Regions from separate parts of the Homo sapiens genome. Here region 2 is linked to region 1. The links are contacts of gene promoters, found by promoter capture Hi-C in human tissues and cell types (Jung and others, 2019). All regions are on one chromosome and are shown on one strand. Each heading gives the region's core, a stretch centred on a gene start or on the middle of the fragment in contact. The rest is flanking DNA. Distances are from core to core; before and after follow the strand shown. Region 1 holds the start of MRPS23 (mitochondrial ribosomal protein S23). Region 2 overlaps MSI2 (musashi RNA binding protein 2).

Region 1 (2,720 bases), core at 72-2,571:
GAGGACTCTAGGATGACTTGACTAGGCTCCCAGGAGACATTGTGTGTGATTCAAAACATTCATTGGATTAAAAGTTCAAATATGAATACAATCTCTTTACAAGTCAAACTCTGAAGCATGTGTAAAGGAAGAAAAAATTCTCCCTTGCCTGCCTGCAGTTTCACTCCGAGATATCCAATGTTCACAGCCTTGGGTGTCCTTCTGCAGAATTTCTATCCTCAAACACAAACATATATAGAGGTGTTTCTTTTTCCTTTTTTTTTTCTAACACGTTGAGATTCCACTAAACATGTTTCTTTGCAACTTCGTTTTTCATTTAAACATAAGTCATGTACCTTAACCTTGGTAAATACATGTGGATCTAGCTCATTCATTTTAATAGCTGCATAGGGTTCCAAAGAAAGTATGAACAATAATTTTCCAGCTATTTCTCATCTGATGGATTTTTTTTCCCACTACAAACAATGCTGCAACGATGATCCTTGCACAAACATCCTCATGAATTGATGCTTTAATTTCTAAGGGGTTCTTTCCCCGAAATATGATTACTGGGTCAAAGGGTATGCTACACACAGTTTATATTTTTTTACAGTTTAACACTGAGAGATGACTTTCTCCAGATTTTTTCGTTTCCCTCTCGGCGTCTGTTTGTTCCGGACACTTTCACTTTTCGAGTTCCAAGGAGGAGGTAGCCCGCGACACCGGCCGCGGGAAACACGAGTTGCAGCCAGCATCCTAGTTAGCGTGGATGCAGGTGGCACTCCGGGGACGAGGGGCTTAGTGGGGAGCACTACACAGCCAGAGGCGGAGGCCCGAGATCTAGCACGACGCTGGGCAAGTGACGGCCCCTCCCCGGCCTTGGTTTTCTTCTGCGTAGTCTGTGACTCTAAACAACATTAGGCTCAGCCTGGGCCTAGAGCTGGTGACCTCAAATCTCGGCCTTTGTTGGCTCCCCTAGGACTGTAGGCTGCGCTTCACCCCTGCTCTGCCCCACTACTTCTCCTCCGCGCGGCCCCACCTTTTCAGAGGAGTTGGCTCAACAAGGCGAGAGAGAGTAAAGCAACCATCATGATGAATCCCTCCCACAGCTCGGTCATTTATTACTTCTGTCCGGCTTTGGCTCGCTCCTGCCCTTTTGGCTCGGCTATCGAGTGCTCCTGCCTGAACCTGGCAAGTAACCTCGGAGCGCGCCCGTTCGGCCTATCACTTGCTTCTGCCTGCGCCGCTCTCCCGCAGGGGCTGCGGTGAAAGCCCAGCGATCCTTGGCTCGGCCAGCAACTTATGCGCCCTTTACCTGGAGCAGCCGCTTCCGGTTCCGGTAGCAGCTAGTCACGCTCGGTACCAGGCGCAGATCATGGCAGGCAGCCGGCTGGAAACCGTAGGGAGCATCTTCTCTCGGTGTGTGCTCCCAGCCGTGGTGGGCTGAGGGTGCCTCCCCCAGGCTGGGGTTCTCAGCCGGTCACGCTCTTCCTTGGAGCGGACCTGAGCAGGGCGAGGCGTATTGCAGGGTGCGGGGGCTGAGCTGGGTGAGGCCCTCTCATGTTTTCTCCTGGCTCCGAATAGTTGTGCCTGAGGATGCCTCTCCTTGAATTTATGTGTCATGTTAAAGATTATTGCAGCTGCCTCTCCCCGAGTGGAGGTCTCTAGGAAGAGGAAGGGAGGAAGAGCCTGATGGGCCTTCCTTATCAGGTCATGCAAGACCGCTCTTTGCATTTTTCCGTGACCGAACGTGGGTGGGACGCACAAAAGAAGATAGAGGGATTTAACTCTCCTGAGCGTTGTTAAGTTTGGTTTGGGATGTGGACAGATCTTCTCTGTAGGTGGGGAGCAGTCCTTCCCCGTTCTGTGTTGCAGACCGCATAATACCTTTAATGTCCCAAACTGTGCTAGACTGATTCAGGGGCTTTGGCAGGCTACTGCAAGTGACCCAGTTTCGTTCTGTTCCCTCCCTAAGGACTCGGGACCTGGTTCGGGCCGGGGTGCTGAAGGAGAAGCCCCTGTGGTTTGACGTATATGACGCCTTTCCCCCGCTGAGGGAGCCCGTCTTCCAAAGGCCTCGAGTGCGATATGGCAAAGCCAAAGCTCCCATCCAAGACATCTGGTACCACGAGGATCGGATTAGAGCGTGAGTGCTCAGCCCTGTAGTGGACAGGAGGCAACAGAACTTCAGAAGGGAAGGTTTCGGTAGCAGTCTGGGAATTCAAACATGAAATTGAGTCAGGGGTTTGCCCTGTGGAGAAGGCTTATCTAGCCAAATTAGGGAGGCAGCACCCCTTCCTCATAGTGAAACTGAAGTTCTGAAAAGTGGAATCTGGAGCCCAGCAACCGAAAGATCATTGCAATTATAGCCGCATGTTTCTGGGCATCTGCTTTGGGCCAGGCACTGTACTAAGCTCTTTGCAAGCATTATCTCATTCTCTAAAGGCCTTACTCTAACTTGTAAGGAAGGCATTCTTGTTTCCATTTTATTCAAGGAGACTGCGAAGCTCAAGGAAATTAGCTAACTTCTTGTAATTACTAAATATATAGGAGGGTGGCAGATCTGGGAATCACATCTCTGACTCCAAGCTTATGGTGATCATTATGCCGGCCTTCTCCACGAGTGGAGATAGGAGGAACGTGGTCTGTGGATCTAGTAGTCCGGCTCTTTGAAGCCACTCAGATGAAAGGATGCTTGAAAGTCTAAGAGAGGCCGGGTGCGGTGGCTCACGCCTGTAATC
Region 2 (2,720 bases), core at 126-2,625, 580 kb after region 1:
AGGGGCGGGATCTGTACACCAACAGGTTTTCTTTTCCCCTCTCCCTGGAATTCATTTCAGAAATGAGAATATTGACTTTTCACACTCTTGGTTTGGTGTTCCAACAGTGCCCAGCTCTGTGATGTTGGCCTGACACGCCGCCCAGCCAGGCTCCGGCAGGTATCCAGAAAGTAAAAACAAAATGCCGCTAAGTTGAAAACTTTACTTTTCAGCAGGTGGGAATAAAGGACAAAACTCAACATTCACGGCCTCTTTAGGGTGGAGAACACCACAGTAAACCAAACAGGGTTTGTTGTTAAAAATTCCATCTGAAGACTTAGGAAACACAACGTGTGCATGCACAAACACACACAGGCGCCCATGCAAGCATGCAGAAGGAAACACTCAGCTGAGAGCAAGTCATGGGAACTGCTACTTGGCTGGTTCCTTGCCTCCCTCCCACCAGAGCGGTCACCTCATTAATGTCACTCAGCATCACATTTTGCTACACTAGGTCTTTCTGCACTCTGTTCCCCTAGGCGGCCCAAAAGCCCGCTTCCATTGTAAACTTCTGTGCTTTAGGAAACTATCAAAAGCTTTGATGGCAGAAAAGAAAAAAACTTTTATAGCGCCTCCCTCCTCACTCTTTCCCCTCCTTCAGTTTCTTTTCTTTGGTGCTTTATTCAACATCACTACACACACAAATCATGGTCTGAAAGTCGTTTACAATATGTCAGCTTAAAAAAAAAAAAAAAAAAAAAAAGATTGCAGTGGCCCGTCTATTTTGCAATTGCCAAAAGAGAATAATTCATTTCGGTGGAGGGTATGGATGAAGCCCTGAATACATTCCTACACCATTTTCTGCCCTTCAAAACAATAAAAATGTAAAAACCCAGATGAAGGAAGGCCCAAGGTGGCAGGAACGAGAATCTCTTGACCCCCAAGGAATTTATTCTCCTAGATCTTCTGAAGCACTCTCTCCCCAGAATGCATCATCAAGACCATTTTATTAGATTTTTCTAAACCCTTGAAATTGTCACATAATTGAAACAGAAACAGCAATTTAGAGCTCTTGAATGGATTTCTTAAAAAGAAGACTCTGTGCTTGCCCGACACCCCCGCTCCTTGGCTGCTCATACCCCTAACCTAAATTTAAGGTCCTTGCACACAAAACCCTATTTATTTTATAAATCCTCCCCTGCCATAAAAGTTACACATTCTCCTAATGCCTTAGATTTCAGGACGTTTGAGAGAAACTCATCCCAGACAACAGGCTAAAAAAAGAATCCATTAGCATTAACTTGCCTGTCACAGCCAGTGACAAATAAATGAATGTGATGCTTTCAGATCAGTCATTGGTAGAGCTACCCCCGGGCAGATAAAGACCAGTACAGGGAGAGAGAAGACTCATGGGGAGACCTCTCACACAGCAGTGTCTCAGCTGTTCCCTAGCTGCTCCCCGGGACTTTACTCTCAGAGGCAGCAAAAACACAGGCATCAGATACGGAAAAGGAAATGAATTCCTAATGCCCATCAAGCATCCCCAAGATAAAGGCTGCATGCTATCTCGCCTCGAGAGCCAGGACCTCATGAGCAGGCCAAGCCACTGACACAGAATTTTCCAATCTCAATGTGCTGTTCTATCCCTCACCCTAGAAAGGAGCAACAGTGCTAATCAACCCACGAGCTGCTCGGTTATAAGGTCCCCTGATGATGGGGGCAGGGACATTTTTCGGGGACAGTAACAGATGATGAATGCTTATACTGTACCCACAACATGCAGCTATCACCCTAGGCCATTCATATGCAGTAGCTCAGTCCATCTTACCCTTAGCAATTCTACAATGGAGGGACGGTTGCTATCCCATTTAACAGGTACAAGTGGAGGTGCAAAACCACTAAGTGACTTGTCTAAAATGCCATAGCTGGTAAGTGGCACTTACCTATGCTAAACAAGCTCTCAGAAAACAGGTAACAAAAATTAACCTGAAGCTTTCCAGCTAGACTATCACAAATTCTATTCCTCAGCCTGAGCATTTTATAGCCATCAGGCAAAGTGGCAACCTCAACTCTGCCCACTCATGTTGGATGCAGCAAGGCTTAGCAGAGAGGAGAACAAAGCCTTGGGATTCAGAGAGACTTTGGTCCAAAGGCCAACCCTGAACCTTACTAGTTCTATGGTTCTAGAAAGCTGTCTGCCCTCTCAGGCCCCAGTTTACCCACTGTCAAACGGAGATAATACCAACTATTTCAAAGGATTGTTGTAAGGATTAAAGAAGACTAAGTGTATAGTCTCGGTACTATGCCTATAACATATAAACTCACAATAAATGACAGTCATTATTCTGAATTAGGATTTTTCTTTTTAACTATTCAAAATCTCACAGCTAAAATAAAGCAAGATAGCAGCCAGGCATCCACCCTAAGGCTAACATTCCAGATGGTTGGAAGCCTGGTGCTATCTTCAAAAGAAGGGAGAATGGAAAATATCTTATCCTACTCTGGACCCAGTGGGACAACTGTCCCAGCTGGACCGACCAAGTGAGGCTGCTGCTACAACATACCACAGGGTGCTCAGCCCCAAGACCACACCTGCGCACTTCACACCACACGGAAAGCAGAGATCATGATTCCAAAAATGCATATTCTTCACCAAGCAGACACTCAGCCAAAGGCGACCCCAAGCAGATACCATCTATGAAGTCACAGGTCAGACTGCTCTGAGCCACGGGACACACACT

The links. Contacts are between HindIII fragments. The study calls those that stand out against the background at their distance.
Region 2: a fragment that was not itself captured here is called in contact with the fragment with the promoter of MRPS23 in region 1 in 1 of the 25 tissues and cell types used here (dorsolateral prefrontal cortex).

Annotation. Positions count from the first base shown.
Region 1 is chr17:57,848,645-57,851,364 of GRCh38, reverse strand. It overlaps MRPS23 (mitochondrial ribosomal protein S23), which reads left to right and starts at 1,321. Exons shown (of 5, transcript NM_016070.4): 1 at 1,321-1,398; 2 at 1,955-2,125. The coding sequence starts at 1,355. RefSeq lists enhancers at 826-1,335, 1,011-1,340. The HindIII fragment of the contact is 5,598 bases long and covers 1-2,720 here.
Region 2 is chr17:57,269,767-57,272,486 of GRCh38, reverse strand. The region is part of intron 5 of MSI2 (musashi RNA binding protein 2); the gene reads right to left. Among named protein-coding and RNA genes, the nearest start is that of MSI2, 15 kb to the right of the region's middle. The HindIII fragment of the contact is 3,689 bases long and covers 1-2,720 here.